4 separate regions of the Homo sapiens genome follow, and all the other regions are linked to region 1. The links are contacts of gene promoters, found by promoter capture Hi-C in blood cells and fetal thymus (Javierre and others, 2016). All regions are on one chromosome and are shown on one strand. The core of a region is centred on a gene start or on the middle of the fragment in contact, and the rest is flanking DNA. Distances in the headings are between cores, read along the strand shown.

The links. The method cuts DNA at HindIII sites, captures the fragments that hold promoters and counts their contacts. A CHiCAGO score of 5 or more calls a contact.
Region 2: a contact is called between a fragment that was not itself captured here and the fragment with the promoter of TMEM215 in region 1, in 3 of 17 cell types (M2 macrophages, M1 macrophages and M0 macrophages). The highest score is 11.2, in M2 macrophages.
Region 3: a fragment that was not itself captured here is called in contact with the fragment with the promoter of TMEM215 in region 1 in 1 of 17 cell types (M2 macrophages); the score reaches 5.4 in M2 macrophages.
Region 4: a fragment that was not itself captured here is called in contact with the fragment with the promoter of TMEM215 in region 1 in 1 of 17 cell types (M2 macrophages); the score reaches 5.8 in M2 macrophages.

What each region holds. Positions count from the first base shown.
Region 1 is chr9:32,779,203-32,785,235 of GRCh38, reverse strand. TMEM215 (transmembrane protein 215) reads right to left here and starts at 1,696. Exons shown (of 2, transcript NM_212558.3): 1 at 1,431-1,696; 2 at 1-1,110. The coding sequence starts at 1,052. The coding sequence ends at 345. LOC105376017 (a long non-coding RNA gene) reads left to right here and starts at 2,330. Exons shown (of 7, transcript XR_929559.2): 1 at 2,330-2,593. The HindIII fragment of the contact is 4,873 bases long and covers 1-4,754 here.
Region 2 is chr9:32,659,277-32,664,857 of GRCh38, reverse strand. No RefSeq gene overlaps it. Among named protein-coding and RNA genes, the nearest start is that of TAF1L, 26 kb to the right of the region's middle. The HindIII fragment of the contact is 2,601 bases long and covers 361-2,961 here.
Region 3 is chr9:32,865,691-32,871,496 of GRCh38, reverse strand. No RefSeq gene overlaps it. Among named protein-coding and RNA genes, the nearest start is that of TMEM215, 85 kb to the right of the region's middle. The HindIII fragment of the contact is 3,619 bases long and covers 2,539-5,806 here.
Region 4 is chr9:32,677,594-32,683,045 of GRCh38, reverse strand. It overlaps LOC105376017 (a long non-coding RNA gene), which reads left to right. Exons shown (of 7, transcript XR_929559.2): 6 at 2,371-2,437; 7 at 3,038-3,759. Among named protein-coding and RNA genes, the nearest start is that of TAF1L, 45 kb to the right of the region's middle. The HindIII fragment of the contact is 4,094 bases long and covers 1,707-5,452 here.

The sequences.
Region 1 (6,033 bases), core at 447-2,946:
TGCAGCCCACTCTAGATTTATCTTGCTCTCAGCTGGTTCTGGATAGCACTTTTTGGGTTATTTTACAAAACATTTAACATTGTGTAAATTGTTAAGAAGCAACTGGAGTAGCTTCCTTTCCTACCCACTGCCTCTTCCAGTGTCCTTAACCCTCATCGCCCTTCCCTAAAATGTGTCCCCAACATGCCTATTTACATGACTCTCGGGTACCAGAGGTTATCACACCCATCACATACCAGGTCAATTTCTAACAGTGTGAAGGCTCTCCAAGCAGAGCAATTTGCTTCCACGGGGAGCTGGGCTTAGTCATATTCTATCAATCCAGCCACCTTTGTAGGCAGAGATTAGACGATGGTCTCGTGGTCCCACCTGCCTTGTATCTGATTGATATAACAACAGTATCTGTCATACGGGCTGTTCTGCTTGTAGGAGCAAACGATGATACTGTCCTGGGGCACAAAGAAGATGCTATCCTCAGGCTCAGGGCACTCAGATCTGTCCCTTGCTGAGCACTTGACGTCCAAGGCACTGTAGGTGAGGGAACTGCCCGAGGGGCAGTAGCCGTCCAGGTATCTGGACGTCTCCTCCTGATGCCCATTCTGGACGAGGCTCTGGCATTCTCCTTCCTCCGTGGGTGTGGGGCTGTTGATGGAGCTGGCCACGGACACCTCACCCTGGCTTTGTGGGGGAGGCTTCCCCCTGAGGCCCGCCTTCTTAGCCAGCTCATCTGAGCTCCCCTTGCCGGATTCTAGGTCTGAAGGGGTCCTCAGCAGCTCTACCACCTCCTTGTCTTTGGGTTTCCGGAAGCAGGGCAATTTGCGGACCCACAGCAGCTCGTTCTCTGGCCACTTGGTGCATCCCTCGGTTTTCCTGGCCAGGGCAATGGCTGCGATGCCTGGTAGGCAGATGGCTGGCCCGATGGCCAGGAGGGGGATGTTTCCCAAAGTCTCCCCTTTCATCCCAGAGACGGTGAACATGAAACCAAAGACGAGGAAGACACTGACCAGGGCCACCACCAGCCCAGTCCTCGGGTTAATGTCATCAGGCCGCATGTTTCACTCCATCCAGGTTGGGGGCTGCTTGCTGACCAGGGAGCAGCGTTCCTCTATTCTGTCAGAGATGAAACCACAGTGCGTTAAAAAAAAATCCAAGTCAAGCTCCCACCCATCAACTCTTGTCTTTCTCTTGCCCTTTGTCTCCGACTTGCTTCTTGACTTTCAGTCTTGATCTCTGTCTCTGTATCTCTCTTGCAATCTCTCTATCTCTCTCTCTGCGTTTCTCTTGCAATCTCTCCCTGTTTCTATTTCTACTCTTTCTCTCCGTCCCCTCTCCCTCCCTCCCTTTCTTGTGCCCTCCCTCTCTTCCTCTCACTATTGCAACCTCCGTCTCTCTCTCATATCAACACGCTCCGGCTGGGGTCAACGAGGTACCTGAGGTTTCCTGCCCTCTCCAGGAAGTAGGGAAAGAAGCCAGGCTGTCTCCTCAGAAGCCCCCACAGCAGCTGCCCCCTCGGCTCGCTCCCTTGGTTCTGGGAGGAAAGCCTGGTTTCCCCCACGGACTCTGCATCGGGGAGGTGGAACCTGGGAGAGCGGCTCTCCCAGCAGTGCCCGTCGGTCCCGGTGCTGTGCAAGCGGAGCCCGGCGCCAGCTCAGCGCGCAGAGCGCGGGGCGCGGGAGGAGGAGGGAGCACTGAGTCTGGGAAAGAGGGGACGCGGCGCGAGCCTGGCCTTGTTACATCACTGTCAGAGCAGGCTCAGAAACGCAGACAGACGCGCGGGGGCGCGAGGGGGTCAGCCCCAGAGGGAGGCCACCCGGCGGCAGGCGCTGCCCGGGGTCTCGTCGGGGCTGCTGGGAGCGGCCGGGGTTTGTGCCGCCGCCGTTCCGGAGGCTGAGCAGGGCGACCTGACCCGCTTCCGTGCCCGGGAAGGGTCTGGGGCGCGAGGCTGCCAGTGGCCGGAGTCGGAAACCAGGGTCGGTTTGCCCACGGGGCAGCCGTTGCAATATCCGAGCTCGGGCTCCCAGTCCGGGATCCGAGGAGTTAGGTGCCAGCTGGAGATGTCCCTCCGGGACCCGCACCCTTCTCCAGTTACAAATCCGGGTGACTGACGGCAGGCCCAGGGGCTCCCCGACCGCCCTTCTCTCAACCCCTCGACTCGGGGCGCGGGGGGGTGTGTGTCCCTCGGGGAGCCGGTGCCCGAGGACTGCTTTGGTCCCGGCTCTGGGCGGTGGCGGCGCGCGAAAGCGCTCTTGCAGCGGAGCGACTGCGCCGCGGGAGCGCACAGAACCAGCGCCCAGGCGGAGTGGGTTAGTGGTGAGGGGTGGGTGCCAGGCTAGTCCGGGCCTTGGGGGAGTCCCCGGAGTCCCCGTGGCTTTCCAGCTCCAGGCTCGGGAGAGGGTGACCTTGGAGCCGGGATTTCACTTCTACAGCGCTGTGGTGCCGGGGGGACAGGGAGAAGGGCTCCCTGGCCCCCAGTTCACGAGGAGAAGGGGCCTTGACCGGTCAGGACCACCACCCTACGACGCCGCTCAGCTCTGGGCGATTCTCTCCTCCCTTGCTGAAGCAGGCATTGAGAGCCTGCGTTCCTCCCGCTCTGGTAGGCAGGGGCAGATGGATTCCTCTGGCCCCGGGGGGCAAGACTGGCTTTGGCTGTGATTCTTCAACAGGGCTGCCCATTTAGGATAGAGGAGGGCGGTGGAGAACAGGTTGATGAGCGGTACATGCTTTCATGTCAAGACACTGATTTACTGGAAAGAATTTTCACATCCAGGCCTTCCCCAGTTAAACTAGCTGTATATTCCTGGGCAAGTGACTTAACCTCTCTGAGAATCAGTCGTCCTATCTGTAAAATGAGATTAATACCAAATATATGAGGAAACATTGTGAGGATTAAATAAACGTAAAGTTCCTAGCACAATGCTTGGTACATAGTCTGTGTACAAAAATTACACACACATGCACACACGTACACATGTATATGTATATATATTTGTCATCATAATTAGTGTCTTCATCATGTATGACAGGAGCCAAACAAATCATAAAGGCTGTGAGACTAAGGACTTTTTATCCACTAGGCAATGAAGAACGCTTGATGTATTTTAAGCAAAGATCAATACAAAAACATTCCAGTTTGACTGAAAGGGGCGGCAGGTGAGAGCATAGGTTGGAGCTGGTAAGTCTGGAAGCCGGGAGTCTTGTTCAGTAAGCTGAGAAGTTCAGTAAGCCGGGCAAGACATGATGTGGCCTTAACAATGTCGGGCTGGTAGAGGAGTTGGAAGGAAGCAGATCTGAGGGTATTTAAGGGTTGAGTGAAGTGTCTTGGAGCACAGTGAAGTGAGATGAAGGGAGGAGCCAAGGTCAACTCCCAACTTTCTCACTTTCAAAGGGGTGGATCAGGAAGCAGATCCTTCTCATTTTCCTCTCCATCATCTATTTTGTATCTTTTGTACTCATGACCATTAGACAGCTGCTGCACCTTTAGGCATAGAATCATTTAGGAGGGAAGAAAGGAGAAAATGCAAAGGGTAAAAGTGAGGTGCCAGTTCTTTGGCCACTTGTATGAGGACAATAATAATTTTCCTGGCAGCCCCCCCAAGTAGATAGGCATCTGCCTGTAATTGACCAGAGATGGATGAGCTTTGGGATACAAAGGTACCTGGGAAATTGTTGTTTATTTATTTACCAGATCCACTGATGGTCTGAAAAAAGGGTTTTGTTTAAAAGGAGCAGCATACTGCTCCTTTTAAATACTGGGGAAGCAGCTCGCTACGTGTGTTACAATTATTGAAAAGTTTTCCCTTCTTAAAACCGTTTCTTTTACTGACACCATTCTATCCTAGTTTTCTTCCTATCTCCCTGGTCACTTATTTGTAGGCTACTTTATAAACTCCTATTTTATTTATTTTTTATTTTAACAAACCCCTTAGATACTGATGTTCTGTGGGTTCTATTCTTGCTTCTCCCCTTTCTTGATTTCTCTTCTCTTTCTTCTCATTCTGTAATAGCCTCGAACAGCCTGAATAGGCTGATGACTCCCAAAACTCTCTCTTTAGCTTTGTCATTTTCCCTCAGCCCCAAATCTATAATATCCAACTGTCTGCTTGATATCTCTAATCTGGATGGTATGCAGACACCTCACACTTGCTAGGGACTTTAGACTTCAGGGATTTAGACTTTAGTGATTTTGATCTATGGGGATTTCAACATTAGGGATTGTGGGGTTTGGGATTGTGTCCTTTGGGATTATGTTCCAAACCCAACCTCATCATTCCTTCCATTTGCCAACTGAGAATATTTGCAATTGTTCTCTACTCCTTTCTCTCCCTAACAGCCTACGTCCAGTAAGTCACCCAAGTCATTATAGTTTTACCTCCTAAGTCCTTTGATTATCCCCTCTTATGGTGGTGACCCTAGGAAAATAACTTTACCTTCCTGTGTTTCAACTTCTTAATGAAACAAAGACTTTGAATGAGGTGCTAGGTAAGATTCATTTTAGCTCTAATGTTCCTTGGTTCTCTTGTAGTTACTTCTGCAGGGCTGAGCTGATGTCAGTGTTGTGGACGTGTTTTGACAATAGTGCTGGAAATAAAGTTGGGTCCTAAAGAAGCAAGATTGCTGAGTGGAGACCTCCTGTCACTTGTACAAACATCCAGTTCTTTTCTGATTTTTAAGCCATGCAGTTTATCTACTTAGGCATTAGATAAGACCCGGGCATAAAACCACAGGAAACTTCAATTGCTGTTTAATTATAAGCTTCATTTTCAAAGCAATTCCTTCTTAGAGGTAATTTCAGATGGTCTTTGAACAGCAGGTATACTTGCCCAAGTCAGCAGCAACAGTGGGTAGGGATTGGAGACATCACTCAGGGTCACAATACTCAGAGACAGATAAGGTGTTCTTAGTATTTAATTTCTTGCCTGTATAGTCTGGATTTTAAAACCTTAAGCAGTTCTTGCAATCCTGTAAGCATATACAGCCATGTACAAAGGCTTTTTCTTAGAAGAGCAAGGAATTCAGGCTGAAATGAGACTTTGGCATGTGGGTGTTTCAGAAGGAAACAGAACCTTTTATTTCTGAAATTATAGAAATCATGGCATGCTAGCCTTTGAAGATACCCTGTAGTACATCTACTCCAACTTCTTTATTGTACAGATGAAGTCTAGAAAGGCTTCATTCATCCAATATTACTTGAGTATTTATTGTGTGCTTAGCATTGTGCTGGGTGCCGGGGGTACAAATCAAATATGACATGGTCTGCCTTTATAGAACTCACACCCTCAGAGCAAGTTGTGTGTATGTCAGGACTGGACAGATTATGTGGTGACAACAAAAGACCTCTAGTTCTACAAAAGCTACATGCTCATAATATTATACATGTCTGTAATGAGCCAGCTGCTGCCTCTCTCCATGTCATCTTCACTCTGATGTTCAGATTGACAGAGCAGCTTCCATTTAGGACACGGCCGATCTTGTAGCAGAGGGACAAAAGAGCAGGACAAACCACATGCTGGCTGGTAAAGTGTATTCCCTAGACTTTGCCATCACCCCCATCTCTCAGGTTCCTCCTCCTTTTGCTTCACTTCTTCCTTCCAGCTCAGCTATCCAACCCTAAAGGGATAATAGAGACCAGGCCTGGTGGCTCACGCCCATAATTCCAGCACCTTGGGAGGCCGAGGTGGGCAAATCACCTGAGGTCAGGAGTTCAAGACCAGCCTGGCCAACATGGTGAAACCCCATCTCTACAAAAAATACAAAAATTAGCAGGTGTGGTGGCATGTGCCTGTAGTCTCAGCTACTTGGGAGGTTGAGGCTGGAGAATTGCTTGAGCCTGGAGATGGAAGTTGCAGCGAGCCAAGATTGAGCCATTGCACTCCAGCCTGGGTGATAGAAGGAGACTCCATCTCAAAGGATAGTAGAGTTTTTGGAACTTCTGAAACTTTGAAGGCTAAAGATGGAAATTTTTGTCTAGTACCATACAAATTCTGTAGTTGTTTTCTCTGAGACTGAAAGATGTTTCACTTTCTGCTGAAGACT
Region 2 (5,581 bases), core at 412-2,911, 120 kb after region 1:
TCTCTCTCTGTGTTGCCCAGGCTGGAGTGCAGTGGCGTGATCACTGCAGCCTAGACCTCCTGGGTTCAAGCAATTCTCCCATCTCAGCCTTTCGAGTAGCTGGGACCACAGGCATGTGCCACTACACCTGGCTAATGTTTTTATTTTTTGTGGAGATGGGGTCTCCGTATGTTGCCCAGCCTCAAAAAAAGGACTTTGAAGGAGAGTTATGATCCCTCAGAAATCAGTCCCTTCTAGTTATAAGTGAGGTTAGACATGCATTGGTCTCATTTTGAAAAAACAGATGGTGACAGGGATTATTTATTTATTTAGGTATCCAGCTGAAGGCATTAGCCTACATTTAAGTTTTTCTTAAAAGCTTTTTCCAGGTTTAGATCTTCACAAAGAAATAAAACCAAAACACTTATGTCTTAACCGAGCTGATTTACCCACTATCTTCCAAATACACTTTATATTTGTAGAATATCCTTTTCTCCCTAATCCAATACTTCTATCCTCACTGACCTCTACACAGTCACATCCTACATGATTTTCCAAACCCAGTTAAATTTCCTCTATTTTTCAAATGTACTCTTGACCATCTGCCTTGCCTGGAATAATATCTTCTCTTTTTTCTTTAACATTTTAAGAGAATTTAATAGTTATAATGTATTTTTATTTTGTTGTATGTTAGAAAATATATATTACTAGCATATCATACTCATTTCACAGCTTTTTTAAAAAGGTGATTTAGTTGAAGATTGTAGTAGTTCATTACTGCTACAAAACCTCAAAACGTCATGGCTTAATGTATCAATATTTCATTGAGCTCATGATTCTATGGGTCAGTAATTTAGGCTGGCGTTAGTTGGGCAGGTCTTTTGATTTCAGCTGGGTTCTTTCCTGTGTCTGGGTCAGCTGCAGGTTAATTAAGTGGTTCTGCCTCTGGGGGTTGGCTGGCTATCAGCAAGAGCCCCTCCCTACCTCTCCACAAGGCCCTTAAACCTCCATCAGATTTGCCATGCTTAACACAGCACCTGGTTCATACTAAGTGATATTATTATTGTTTTTAGCCTTTCCAGGAATATAGTTCACTTTTTCAATCTTTATACTAACACGAAAGTCAAACACAGACTAACATGAATCATAGCTCTTACCCCATACCGAATTTTCCTGAAGATTTAAAGGATACAGACAAGCACCAGGCATAGCCAAAATAATTTTTTTTCCTAGAGGAGACCGAAACCATCAGAAACTTGCAAAAATTTGCCTAAGTGTCCCTTTTTTTGTTTTTGCACATTGGATTTTGGTTTTGATTTTGAATTAATCTATGAGTTTTGAACAAAGCATATAGAAATTTTATTTACAAATAGAGCCATTTTGGTTTTTAAGCACTTTTATTTATACTCCATCAATTACACACTGATTGGAAGGTGTTTATGTGAGTACCCCTTATTCTCCAGCCAGCTACACTCCTTAAATCTGTACATTCAGGGTGTGTTTACACCTTGATCTTGGACTTCCCAGTTTCCAAAACTATGATAAATAACTGTCTTTTGTCTAAACCACTCACTCTATGGTAATTTGTTATAGCAGCCCAGCTGACTAAGACAGTCACTGTCTTGAAAACATTATGAGGCAATGTAGTGTAATGCTTACAAATAGGAGTTCTGGAGGCAGGAAAATCTGAGTTCAAAATCTGGCTCTGCCATTTACTAGCTGTATCATTTTGGACAAGTTACTTAACCTGTTGTGCCTCAATTTCTTCATCTGTGATATAGGAATAATAATAATGTCTACATCATGGGTTTATAAGTGTTCAAAGAAAGAATGCACACAAAGTGCTTAACACACTGCCTTATAAATGATAAGCACTCTATGAATGCAAACTTATAATGACAACAATAGTTATTAGCCTTACCCTAAAGAGGAGAGTTTTGGGAAGGTGGGACCAATAAACTGTGTGGCATAAAGGTCAAGTATGATAAGAACTGAAAAGTGCCAATATGTATAGCATCTAGAGGGTCTTTCATGGTACCAATGGATGGGGGTGAAGTCAAAGCCGTCATGCAGTGAGAGGCTGAGGAAATGGAAAGTTAAGAAGAGAAAGCAGGTGGGTAAGGTGTTGGTTCTGGCAAGAGAGTCTTTGAAGGAGGGATAATTGGGCAATATTGTATCTACTCTATACCCTTTACCTCTACATGCCATGGGTGCCAGGGTGCCAACTTACAAGGGCAGTATATCAGCAACTCCCCAGACCTGTGCAGGAGAGTCTGTCTTTTTTTCTGTCTAGGTTGGTGTGCTTCTAACCCTTTCTTGTAAGAAAAAATTTTAAAACCCAAACTTCTATTTCTGGCTTCTCTGTAGTTTCTTAAATTACAACTTTAAATATGTAAAAGTTTCCAGTATACATAGCAAGGTGATGCAATAAATAAATTAAAAAAGAAGCTGATTTGTGAGAAAGAGAGGAGATTAGCAACAAGCTAGAAATTCACAGCTGATGTGGCAATGAATAGTGGAGTCTTCAAGCATTTGGGGGAATCCAGTGCAGGTCAAGGATGGTGGATTCTGAAGTTTTAATATTGCATGCTAAAGTGCAAACCCATTTGGCACATGACCAAATATCAGTATGGATAAAATTCAGTAGCTGATGTTTATATTTTTCTTGCACTCATTGGAGGATTTGTCTGTGTAGCAATAAACTTTCCAAGACAGAATGGTAGGGAAGATGCTTGAATTTGTAATTTATTGTTATTCTACTTAAGCATGTGTTTTATGCCAGAAGTCATGCTTTATGCAAGACCTTTTTGAATAATTTCAGTTCACCAGTCAGAAGGAAGATAATTACTCAAGGGTAAGGACCATGGTTTCTACTTCCCTCCAACTAAGCTGAATGCTGCATCTTTACCTAAAAGAGTATCTGGATGTATACAGAGCCAAGGAGATTCTTAGTTCTCCCCATTGGGGATTCTTATGGAAGCTTTAGTAAGTTGTTGCTGTGGAAAAGTAGAATGGGCCCATATTGGAGTCACAAAGTCCAACATAAAATCCTAGCTCCATTATTTACTGTGTATGATATGGTTTGGCTGTGTCCCCAACCAAATCTCATGTTGAATTCCCATATGTTGTGGGAGGGACCCAGTGGAAGGTAATTGAATCATAAAGGTGGGTATTTCAGTGCTGTTCCTGTGAATAAGTCTCACGTGATCTGATGGCTTTATAAGGTGGAGTTTCCCTGCACAGGTTCTCTCTTTGCCTGCTGCCATCCATGTAAGACGTGATTTGCTCTTCCTTGTCTTCCACCATGATGGTGAGGCTTCCCCAGCCATGTGGAACTGTAAGTTCATTAAACCTCTTCCTTTAGTAAATTGCCCTGTCTCGGGTACATCTTTATTAGCAGTGTGAAAACAGACTAACACAGTAAATTCGTACCACAAGAGTGGGGGCACTGCTGAAAAGATACCCAAAAATGTGGAAGCAACTTTGGAACTGGGTAACAGGCAGAGATTAGAACAGTTTGGAGGGCTCAGAAGAAGACAGAAAAATGTGGAAAAGTTTGGAACTCCTAGAGACTTGTTGAATGGCTTTGACCAAAATGCTGTTAATGATATGGATAATGAAATCCAGGCTGAGGCAGTCTCAGATGGAGATGAGGAACTTGTTGGGAACTGGAGCAGAAGTGACTCTTGTTATGTTTTAGCAAAGAGACTTGCAGCATTTTGCCCCTGCCCTAGAGATTTGTGGGACTTTGAACTTGAGAGAAATGATTTAGGGTGGAAGAAATTTCTAAGCAGCAAAGCATTCAAGAGGTGACTTCGGTGCTGTTAAAGGCATTCAGTTTTATAAGGGAAGCAGAGCATAGAAGTTAAGAAAATTTGCAGCCTGACAATGCAATAGGAAAGAAAATCTTATTTTCTGAGAAATTCAAGCTGGCTACAGAAATTTGCATAAGTAACGAGGAGCTGAATGTTAATCCCCAAGACAATGGGGAAAATGTCTCCAGGGCATGTCAGAGGTCTTCACGGCAGCCGCTCTCATCACAGGCCCGGAGGACCTAGGAGGAAAAAATGGTTTAATGGGTCAGGCCCAGGGTCCCTGTGCTGTGTGCAGCCTACAGACTTGGTGCACTGCATCCCAGCCACTCCAGCCATGGCTGAAAGGGGTCAATGAAGAGCTTGGGCTGTGGCTTCAGAGCTTGGCAACTTCCACATGATGTTGAGTCTGTGAGTGCACAGAAGTCAAGAATTAGGGTTTGGGAACCTCCACCTAGATTTCAGATGTATGGAAACACCTGGATGACCAGGCAGAAGTTTGCTGCAGGGGTGGGGTGCTCATGGAGAACCTCTGCTAGGGCAGTGTGGAAGGGAAATGTTGGGTCAGAGTCCCCACACAAAGTCCCTACTGGGGCACCACCTAGTGGAGCTGTCCTCCAGACCCCAGAATGGTAGATCCATTGACAGCTTGCACTGTGTACCTGGAAAAGCCACAGACACAACACCAGCCCATGACAGCAGCCAGGAGGGAGGCTGTACCCTGAAAAGCCACAGGAGCAGAGTGGCCCAAGACTGTGGGAACCCACCTCTTGCATTAGCATGACTTGGATATGAGACATGGAGTCAAAGGAGATCATTTTGGAGCTTTAAGATTTGACTGTGCTGCTGGATTTCATACTTGCATGGAGCCTGCAGCCCCTTTGTTTTGGCCAATTTCTGCCATTTGGGACAGCTGTATTTACCCAATGCCTGTACCCCCACTGTATCTAGGAAGTAACCAACCTGCTTTTGATTTCACAGGCCCATAGGTGGAAGGGACTTGCCCTGTCTTGGATGAAATTTTGGACTATGGACTTTTGAGTTAATGCTGAAATGAGTTAAGACTTTGGGGTGATCTTGGGAAGGCATGATTGGTTTTGAAATGTGAGGACATGAGATTTGGGAGGGGCCAGGGCCAGAATGATATGGTTTGGCTGTGTCTCCACCCAAATCTCATCTTGAATTCCCACATGTTGTGGGAGGGACCTGGTGGGAGGTAACTGAATCATGAAGGCAGGTCTTTCCAGTGCTGTTCTCATGACAGTGAATAAGTCTCATGAGATCTAATGGCTTTATAAGGCAGAGTTTCCTGGCACAAGCTCTTTGCCTGCTGTCATCCATGTAAGTTGTGACTGGTTCCTTCTTGCCTTCCACCATTATTGTGAGGCTTCTCCAGCCATGTGGAACTGTTAAGTCCATTAAACGTCTTTCTTTTGTAAATTCCCCATCTTGGGTATGTCTTTATCAGCAGTGCGAAAATGGACTAATACAGCGTGACTGGGTTATCACATGCCCTCTGTAAGCCCCATTTCCTTATCTGTGAAATGGGGCAGTTCTTAATGTATCAACCTCATGGATTGTTATGCAAATGAAATGAGAGGCTTAGTGTCTGGAATGCTGAGGTTTCAGTAAGTTCCTCCTGAATTTGGATTCCTAACACATCTCTACTTTCTATTCAACAGATATTTTTGAATTATTCCTGTAAATATAAACTGTGATAACCTCTAATTTCCATCCCAAAGATGGAGGGGGTTATCTATTCACAGTTATTGCCACAGTTGTACAGCAGA
Region 3 (5,806 bases), core at 3,099-5,598, 84 kb before region 1:
ATAAACAAACAAACAAACAAAGTAAATAAATAAAAAATAAAAAATAGATCAATATGGGAAAAATCAAATTATAGCCTCACCTTATCTTATTTTTCAAATTAATTTTAGGTTGTTTAAATAATTCATTGTAAAAGATGAAAGGAAAAAATTTTAAGAAAGGAATTTACGAACCGAAAAGCAATGAATAAACTTGAAAGGAACATATTGATAGATTTATCTGCATTAAAAGATGAAGATATATAACTTATTTGATTCTTCTTGGAAGACCAAGTGAGATTAATTTGTATTAAAATGCTCGGCACACTGTAAAGTGGAATAACTTAAAAGTATTCGGAGCCATTGATAGGAGGATGTAATTTTTTCATTTGGTGGTCACAATCCAAATTTTTTCTCCCAATTTTCACTTAAGCATGCTAGAATTTAGTTCATTACAGCTGTTTTCTAAAATTTTTTATTAAAAAAAAATTTTTTAAATGGGGACTCCCTATGTTGCCCAGGCTGGTCTTGAACTCCTGAGCTCAAGTGATCCACCCACCTTGGCCTCCCAAGGTGGGATTACAGGCGTGAGCCACTGCACCCAACCTTAGAGCTGTTTTGTTTTAACAAAAGCATAAACAATAATTTATTCCCTACCATAATTTCACAGCAAAGGTATTCATTACTATTTTGAGAAGGAAAGTAGCACCTAGCTAACGTATATGAATTCATTCTCTCAAATATTTCCTACCTGAAGAACACAGGACTGCACTGGTGTAGATTCGTAGGACTTGGAATTGCAGTAACACTGCCAGCTCTCTGGATTGTTGGAGAGGTTTCAGTAACAGGGAGGGGGTTCTGCAGAATGGAGACAGGGCAGAGCTGCAGAACCAGGGAAAGGGACTGGGCTGAGCTGTGTTTTCTTAGAGAAAACAGCCTGGGCTTTGGAATAGGTAGATGAGGGTTGAATCTTGACCCCTCACTCACTAATGACTATCTCTGTGCCAGTTACTTAATTTCTTTGTTCTATTCAGAGAAGGTAACAATAGTGCCTACCCTGGTTGGGTTCTCACAAGGATTAAATCATCATCACCCAAGGTAGGGGAAAGCGTATCAAGTGTGGAGTCAGTATCCTGTGGAGTTCTCTTCTCCTTCCTTGCCTTCCTTTCTTTGTCTTCTCGCAGCCCGTTTGTCCCCAGCTCTCTATCCAATTTATTCTACAATCTTACACTGAAAGCTGGCTCTGCACTTGGCAATGGTGTGGGGAATATGAGCAAGAAAAAGACATAAGGCCAGGCACAGAGGCTCACATCTGTAATGCCAGCACTTTGGGAGGCTGAGTGGGGAGGATGGCCTAGGAGTATGAGACCAGCCTAGGCAACATAGTGAGACCACAGGTCTAAAAAAGAAAGAAAAAGACATAGCGCAGGTCTTCAGGTTGTTCACAGTACAGTGCAGACATGTGCACTCAAGCAGATAAGTCCAAAGCAAGGTGATTAGAAAGGATTACTGCAATATTTTGGGGAGCTCCAAGAAGGCAGCTCCTAGAAAGGCTGAGAAAACAATCAAGGAAAGGTTATCCTCAAAACTTTGTAGGAATCAATGGCTCCAAATACTATGCGGGAATCCCCACCCCTGTCTCCTCATTTCAGACTCCTCTTAGAGGCCTGAAGCTAACAACTGGGACCCACAGGGAAGGTTTTCAGCAAGAGGGGCTGCAACGCTGTTAAGATACCTGGTAGCGTTTTCCAATTCCTGAGCCTCCCCAGCAACTGAATGTCTCATGCTCTCTAGCTAATTCCTGTGCCCATCAAACCAGCTTGTCCTGGGAGGATGCCGCTTTAACTTTACCCATGGGTGAGAGGGGGAATGTAGTTCTGATCTCACACAAGTAAGAGTGTACATAGCTTATCTTATTACAGTTATGAGGACTGTGGCCATAAACAGGATCAAGAAGAAGACATTTACTTTCTCCAAAGTGATCCATAGGGAAGTGCTGCAAGTAAAGTAAACAGAATACACGGGGCTGGTGGCCTTGAGGAACCACCCCTGTGGGAAGCCTGAGCCTGAGATTGTTTGCTGCTCACAGGTGGCTCCTTCATCCTGTGGAATGGATTACGAGCCTCAATGTTGGGGAGTGATTTATTGTTTGTGAACCTCTGCTTCGTGGGTCATTGTTTCCCCATTGCTGTGGTTTGTGGGGCTATGGTTTTGCAGTGCGATGGTCTTTCTGTAGAGGTGCCTCTTCTATTGTTAGACTGATCTAAGTTAGCAAGTTTTCCTTATCATGAACGCTAGTAGGTCTTCCTGTAACTTCTCCCCACTGGTCTTTATGCTGAGTCTGACCTATCCTCGGCTGCCATGTTACCCACTGGATGCTTTCTATGTATCAGTTGTATTCCTTACTTCTGGCTACCCACCTAATTAGACTGGTAGGCATTATTACTCCCATTCTGCAGATAAAGAAATGGATTCAGAGAGATTCAGCAACTTGCTTGAGGTCACAGAGCCGATAAGTAGCCCAGTCATAATTTGAGTACCTCTCTGCTTGACCCAAAAGCTTGTACTCATACCACTGCACTGTGCTATTTTTAAAAACTTTGTTTATTTTTCTAAGTTAGAGACAAGGTGTCACTCTATTGCCCAGGCTGGTCTCGAGCTCCTGACCTCAAGCAGTCCTCCGGCCCCGACCTCCCAAAGTGCTGGGATTCAGATATGAACTATTGTTCTTGGCCTGAACATTTTTTTTTTTTGTGGTAAAATATACATGACATAACATTTACCATTTTAGCCGTTTTTAAGTCCACAGTTCAGTGGTGTTAAGCACATTTACATGGTTGTACAGCCATCAGCTATCTATTTTCTAAGCACTTAAAGTCAGCAGGGGCATTCAAGCCTTTTGGTAGTGGGCCACAAGATCATTAATTAAGATTGTTAACCTATGTGTGTGGGCCAATGCATTTTTATTCAGTAACAATGGCTTGGTGAACAATTATTTGGATGAAACTCAAATGCATAACCAAATTTAGGAGTTTTTGAATTATTTATTGTCTTCTGTCAGAACATTATAGTAGTCTCTTAACTTCAGGAAATTAATCAAGAACATCTCACTGTTATGTGGTTAATTACATTCAGTTTTAATTACAATTGCTAATTGATCCCAGCCTACCAGCTTGACATCTGGGTGCAGCAGGCCCACCAGGATAGTGGCAGGCAGGTAAATGCACTGGAGAGCTTCTGTGGGTTACCTCATTAGATAAGTTAGTGGTTGCTAAGAATCTGGGAAGCTCACCTTGGGGGCAACAGGTATTACCAAGAAGGGTGGGTATCTGGATTCCCTGAAAGTTTTCTCTTCAGTTTGAACATCCTTGTTTTTCTCCATGAAACATAGATTCAAAAGCCCTTTATCGAGTGCACTGCTCTCTAGCTGTTGACTAACAGTTCTCTCCAAGCATGCATCTAGAATGAAACCCAACACTCCTGCCACAATCCTGCCAGTACAGGGCAGATCGTGCTTCCCTAGCCTTGGACAACATGCCTCCACCCATGCTGCCATCTCTGGCAATGCTCTCATGTTGCTGGCTCATATTGAGCCTGTAGTTGGTCCAAACTCCAAATCTTCATATGTATTATTGCAACACCAACCTTCCATACTGATGTCCTTGTGAACTGGCCTTTTGGACTCAAGAGTAAGACTCTAAATCTTTCAAGGATGGACAATGTGTGCATTGCTCATGCCCATGGACCGCTCTAATATTAGTACCTTTCCTCTGAGTACAGATCTGGCCTCAGAATCCTTCCCAACACAGTGCTTCAGTCATCTCCAATCATCTCTCAGAGTTGGTACACAAGTACAAACCTAATAGTTTTCCTTGCTTTTCATTTACTTTATTATATCTTATTTTATATTTAACCCATCATGGCAAAGGATAAGTAGAGGTTCTTCTTAAGAACAAGAAGACGAGTGATGGCCAAAGGATTAGAGCTTGATAGAATTAATATCACAAATGTTTAGAGAACTTGAAAGTTGATTGCAGCAAAAGAACAATGGCTTTTATTAGAAAAAGTAATTATTCTCTTACAGTCTAAGGCCTTATTTTGTGCACAGATTATGCCAAAAACTTACCTATTAGAGGAAATCACAATTGCACTTCCCCACCGAGGTTCAGCTTCTTTCTGCTCCCACCACTCTTCCCTATTGCATCAGGTTGGCTTTAGATTCAGGAGAGGGAAGAGAGAAGGGGAGTAGGCCTATTTCCTCCTCTCTTATTCCAAAACACTCATACAGCAATATATTAATATCAGTTTTCAGTTCTTTCTTCTCTAAATAGAAATGGGTAGGGAATGGAAGAGGAAGATGCTGGGTTGACGGCAGTTTATCTTGGTTAAGAGAGAATGGGTTGGGTTGAAGTTTGGGGTTTTGCAAAATACAGCAACTAATCTTCCAGTTAGCAAAGGAGCCTGCAGTATCCTGCAGCTACATACTATTTCTTCACATTTGCAAAAGTCTCTGTGATTCACTGGGTTCAGCAAACTAAAGCATCTTTGCTTGATGAGTGTATAAAACATATATTATAGATGATAAAGCTGGACACAGATAATTGTTCTCTTAATATGCTCTACGTCAGGTATTTCAGACATCTCATCCTGCAGTTGGGAGGGGTTTCCTCATGTGCCCTTGACTTGGTGCCATTCTAATGTTGATAGAGAATATTTTCAGAGCCTGGTTTGCAAGAGCTCTCAGTTGTTAAATGTTCAGGTTGCTATTCATCTCTTCTTCCCTTTCTGCTTCTGACCAATGGGAAGAACACATAAGGAATAATAGCAAGAGAAGAAAGTAACACTTGTCCTCAGTATCAAGTCCCTGATATTCAAAGCAAATTCTGCTAAAAGCTGGATTGGAGAGCCAGATGCTGAAGTGCATGCTTCTACCACAGAGACCACATCTGAGTCATTAGACCCACATGCTCAGCCAGACGAGCGAGTGGGCATGTGAGCAGCTTGGCCTGCAGAGCAGACATAAAGTCACTTATCTGACCACCTACACACCAGGACTATGGGCCTACCTCACCCACCCCAGTTGTAGGTAGAACAAGAACAGCAGCTCTTCCCACAGAGGAGGAACTGCCCAGTGGTGCTTACCATGTGGGAGCAGTAATGGAAGAGATGGTCTTTACCACAGTGATGCCGCCCACCAGTAATGGTGACATAGTGAGTGTGAACTCCCACTCACCGATGATTCCTTTCCTTGGTGGGAAGTGAGTAAGGGGTAGGAGATACCAGAGAATTCCACTCTGAAGAGTGGGGAAAAGGCCCTTCATCTACCAGCTGGGACTTACTACAAGCATAAACATTCCTCCCCTCCCTGGCATCAGTTCTGAAAAGTACTGCTATTGTGCTATTCCTTGGAGAATGTCTTGCGAAGTAATTCGAGATGTGATGATTGGGGAAGCAAACTTAAGCTGAAAAGACAGTAGATATTTTCCCTCCCCTACTGCCTGTGTACTTGCATAAAGGATACTGGAATCTTGATTGGAGAAAAATGTTATGACTGGAAAGCTCCTCATGGATAACCTGCAAATCAATCTTTGGTTTATGCAAGGCAGCACCTGTGCCTCTGTGCTGATGGTGCAGATGTAGTAATGACCACGCTGAAATGCCAGCTGCAAGCCTGGGATTTAGGGAGCCTACTCTTTCCCTGGGGTGGGGGTTGGGTGAATCCAACTTAAAGAAAAACAAACATATGAGAGGTTGGCGTGGAGAGACTGAAAAGTCTGTGACTACTTGGCTTGTGAAAATTGCCTTTTGTTTCTGAAACAATATTATTTGT
Region 4 (5,452 bases), core at 2,504-5,003, 100 kb after region 1:
TTACTGGCATATAGTTGCTCATAGTAACTTCTAATGAACCTTTGAATTTCTGCTGTATTAGTTGTAATGTCTCCTTTTTCATTTCTGATTTTATTTATTTGTATCTTCTCTCTTTTTTCTTAGTTAGTCTGGCTCAAGGTTTGTCAATTTTGTTTAACTTTTCAAAATCCAACTTTTTGTTTCATTGATCTTTTGTATTTTTTCACTTCGATTTCATTAATTTCCACTCTGATCTTTATTATTTCTTTTCTTCTACTAATTTTGTGTTTGGGTTGTTCTTGCTTTTCTCATTCCTTAAGATGCATCATCAGGTTGTTTATTTGAAGGTTTTTTTCTCTTTTTTTTTTCTGAGACGGAGTCTCTCTCTGTCGCCCAGGCTGGAGTGCAGTGGCACAATCTCAGCTCACTGCAAGCTCCACCTTCCAGGTTCATGCCATTCTTCTGCTTCAGCCTCCTGAGTAGCTGGGACTACAGGTGCCTGCCACTGCACCCAGCTAATTTTTTGTATTTTTAGTAGAGATGGGGTTTCACCGTGGTCTTGATCTCCTGATGTTGTGATTCACCTGCCTCGGCCTCCCAAAGTGCTGGGATTACAGGTGTGAGCCACCGTTTTCTCTTTTTTGATGTAGGCACTTATAGCTATAAACTTCCCTCTTAGTCCTGGTTTTGCTGTATCTCATAGGTTTTGGTATGTTGTGTTTCCATTATCATTTGTTTCAAGAAAATTTTCGATTTCCTTCTTAATTTCTTCATTGACCCACTGGTCATTCAGGAGCATATTGTTTAATTTCCATGTGTTTGCATAGTTTTCAAAATTTCTCTTGTTATTAATCTCTAGTTTTATTCCACTGTGGTCAGAGAAAATGCTTGACATTATTTAAAATTTTTTGAATGTTTTAAGACTTGTTTTGTGACCTAACATATGGCCTATCCTTGAGAATGATGCATGTGCTAAGAAAAAGAATGTGTAATCTGAAGCCATTGGATGAAATGTTCTGTAAATATCTATTAGATCCATTCAGTCTGTAGTGCAGATTAAGTCTAATGTTTCTTTGTTGATTTTCTGTCTGGAAGATCTGTCCAGTGCTGAAAGTCAAGTGTCTCAAAGTCTCCAGCTATTGTTGTATTGGGGCCTATCTCTCTTTTTAGCTCTAATAACATTTGCTTTGTGTATCTGGGTGATCCAGTGTTGGGTACTTATATATTTAAAATTGTTATATCCTCTTGCTGAATTGACCCCTTTATCATTAGTGATCTTCTTTGTAGCTTCTTACGGTTTTTGTTTTGAAATCTATTTTGTCTTATATAAGTATAATTTCTCCCACTGTTTTCTGGTTTCCATTGGCATGGAATGTCTTTTTCCATCCCTTTATTTTTAGCCTATATGTGTCTTTATGGGGGAAGTGTGTTTCTTGTAGGCAGCAGATCAATGGGTCTTGTTTTTTCATCCATTCAGTCAGTCTGTGTCTTTTGATTAGAAAGTTTAGTCCATTTACATTCAGTGATGTTATTGATAAGTAAGAACTTACTCCTTCCATTTTGTTGCTTGTTTTCTGATTATTTTATGGTCTTCTCTTCTTTCTTTCTTTCCTTTCTGTCTTCCTTTAGTGAAAGGTGATTTTCTCTGGTGATATGATTTAGTTTCTTGCTTTTTATTTTTTTGTGTCTCTGTTGTATGTTTTTTGGTTTGAGATTACCATGAAGCTTACAAATACTATCTTATAACCCATTATTTTAACCTCATAACAACATAACACTGTTTGCGTATTCAAGCAAAAAATAAAAAATACGAACTCTATGCCATAACTTTGTTTCCCTGATTTTTAACTTTTTGTTGTTTCTATTTATATCTTGTACTGTGATATGGAGTTAAAACCAGGTACTATGAGGGCTCACCTGATTTTTGGTTCTTATGAAGGTGTTTTTTCTGTATAGATAGTTATTAACTTGGTGTCCTTGGATGGGTGATGATAGGTGGAGCCTTCTAGTCCGACATCTTGCTGCTCATCTTCCTTCTCCTGCTCCTCCTCCTTTATCTTCTTCTTATTGTTATTATTATTATTTCCCTTTACCAATTAGGAAACTGAAGCAAAAAAGGGGTTAAACAATTTATCTGTGGTGGCACAGTTAGTAACCTTTAGAGCTGGGAGTCAAATCCAGGCATTTTGCTTCCAGTATCTGTGCTTTAAGTGCTCCATGGCTTCACTGCTTACATTCATAAATAATAGATTATTCTTCCTTTAGGCTTGGGCTGGGGCTGCTTTCACATTTACAGTGCCATGGGGACTGGGGCAGGAAGAGAGTGACATAATTTCCACTGAAACCTTATGCTTGCTAATTTCCCACCTTTCCTCCCTTCTTCTCAAACAGATACCACGTCCTTGGGTTGGAGCCCCTTCTCTACTCACGTTGGACATAGAATCACTTTTCCAATCAGGTGAAGAATGAAGGATGCCCTGGAATGAATTTGTGAAGGGGTGTGTGTGTGTGTGTGTGTGTGTGTGTGTGTGTGTGTGAGAGAGAGAGAGAGGAGACAGAGAGAGAGAAAGTGTGTATGTGCATGGTGGGGAGTTCCAGGTAGACAGAACTGTGAATGTAAAGCCTCTATTTTTGAGTCCACAGAAAGCATCTATTTCATGAGTATTATTCTACATAATACATTGAACACATTGTGTTAACTCATTAAGGCAAAGTAAAATTGCAAATTTTGTTCTTTAAAAAAATTATGAACTAATAAACTTCGTTAAAATCTTTTCTCTGCACCTATCAGAATTTGTAGGAGGCAAGTGCACGCAGTCACTGTCATGTGACACTTCTCTTGTACAAACTCCTCTTCCACTTTCTGTACAGGCACATAATAAAATTCTCTTTTCTCCATAATATATGAAACTGGGAAAGTACTGGTGACATTTTGCAATATGGTATAACAACTGGTGAGTTTGGGAAGTAATGATGTAATTGAATTAGGCAAAACTGCTAAAATCCTTATTTTTTCCCATGGAATTCTGCCAACATTTCATTTTCTGTAATTCTGCAGAAGTAATATGAAACAAAATTGGACTTTTTCATCAACTGGAGAAATTGAAACATGTTTATTTAATTGTTATGGCATGCAAGATATTTTCTCAAGACTTCCAGTTAGAAGGGAATCAGAAATTTTGACCCTTTTTTGAAATTCTTGAAAAAGCCCTCAAATTGTAGGAAAATGAAAGTGGTAAGTAAATGCCCATTAAGTAATCATGAAGTGAGAGTTTCTAGAAAGTGAAGAATCTGGGTAAAACAAAGTTGTTCTTAATAACAGAGATTAGAGGCCACATGGCAATGATAGTAATAAAGCAGCAAGAATAATGCTGCCCCAGACACTCTCCGGCGGCTTCAGACAGGTGGACTGATCTGAGCACTGAGAACATTTAAGTGTGGGAAACATTTTACTCCAGCTTTAACTTCTTAATACAAGCTCCAGTTCCACGTGTCCCACTCATGCCAACTGCCAGCACCACCAAAGCCCTTAAAAGTTTCCTTGTCTTAATGGCTTCCACTCTCCCCTCCTCTCAGGCACCCATCATCCCTGACTCAAACCTGTAGACAAGCCAGACCAAGTTACGTCTCTTCAGAAAAGGAGCAGCTTGAACCATTCTACCCACTTCCAGCCTGGCTTCTAAATCTGGGGTCTCTTTGATAATACTCTCAGCCCAGTGGAGAGGAAAGTCTACTGGGGACAGCTAAAATTTGGCCTACCCTTCCTAGCACAGCCAGTCCAGAAGCCATGGGCCTGGAGATGGAATGAGTCCAAGTTCTTCCAAAGGCTTTTGTTTGAGAAACACTGGCTTAACTATGAAACAGCATTCTCTGCTGAGCTGAGAAATAGCCCCCCTGCCACCACCACCCAGGGAAGTCCATAGTAAGAACCCTTAGGAAATGGAAGAGGAACAGGTTAGAAACCTAGGTGATTTTCAGGGGCGCTAAGTGGAAATCTTATATTTTTGTGATTACAAAAAATGTTTCAGTCACATTCAAGTTCATGTGTAGTCAGTGCCGAAATGGAGACATGAGGTCTTAAACTGGGATGCATGAAATCCTTGAAATTGTACATAAAAGTTTGTGGTTGGGGGGTGTGGGTGGGGTATGTGTAAGCATTTTTTGAAAACTGAATCCATATCCTCCATTGATTTCTCAAAGGAGTCTGCAACACCTCCTTCACCTCCACTGCCACCAAAGTTAAGAACCAGTGACTTAAAGGGATTGTAGACTTTTCTTCAGCTGGAAAGAATCTTGGATAGTATTTAGTTCATTTTTGCTCCTTTAAAAATTTTTCTGACATAAAATTGAGTCTGATTAACATGGGCTGTTTTATAAATGTTGAAGTCTTCTAGGCTTTTTCTCTTCTGAAACACCTTCCAGATGGGTCTTGGAACATGCCTTGTGATGACATCAAGTAGGGCTGTGGTGATGGATCTACCCATGTAGATGCATCTATACGTGATCGTCTACCCGTGTGTGCCAGAAGGGCTGCTGAGGAGGTGGCAGGCACACTCCTGTCCTCTGGTTTATTTTCATGTGTTTTAACTTGGAGCACAAAGATAGGATTGTGGTTCAGAACTCCAAGCCCCTGCATTTCAAAGGGAACTAGTGAGATTCATCCTTATGAGAAGAACCTGGCAAGGCCCCACAAATGACTTCACTGTGATGATTTTCATGGCCCAACTTTACCCTGAATATTATTACACATTTATTTCTTTTGCTTTTATGCTTAAAGCAGCTCAACAATGCATAATTCAAGATGATTATGGCTTGCAAAACCCTGTTTTCTCAACACAAATACTTAGAAAAGAAATCAGCTTGATACTTGGCACCCTTCACTGCAGCTGGGGTCACTCCTCCCAAGTCAGGTGTTTTCATTCAGTGAATGGATGTTACATATGAAGAGCAGAATGAGAAAACCACAGAATTCCAATCTCCACAGGAGATTTTGCTGGGGTGAGATGGGAAGCAGAATAGTCAGTTGATTCTTTGAATGTCTAAGTTAGATGTGAGGCCTTCTTATTAAGTAGAGTAGAAAATACTTGGCAACCATTCGCTATAAGGGTGGAGGTGAGGGGAGAAGTTAAAGATGACTCCCAGGCTTCTGATTTGGTAACTGAGGCCCACGAATGGAAGAAACTTGGGGATATATAAATGGGTCCCATTATGGATATGTTGCATTTGGATCCAGGTGGGCAATTTGGTGTGCAGTTCAATATGAGGGTCTGAAGGAGTGGGTTGGGCTAGAGATAGGATTTGGGAGCTATCAGTAAACCTACAGCCTATGCACCACTGGGAGTTAAAGAAGAGGGTTTCAAAAAGGAGAGCAATGATGCCAAGTATCTCAGAGGAGTCAACTAAGAAAGAACAAACTATTCCCTGGGTTAAACAATGAGGAAGTCATTGATGACCTTAGGACAAGCAGTTTCTG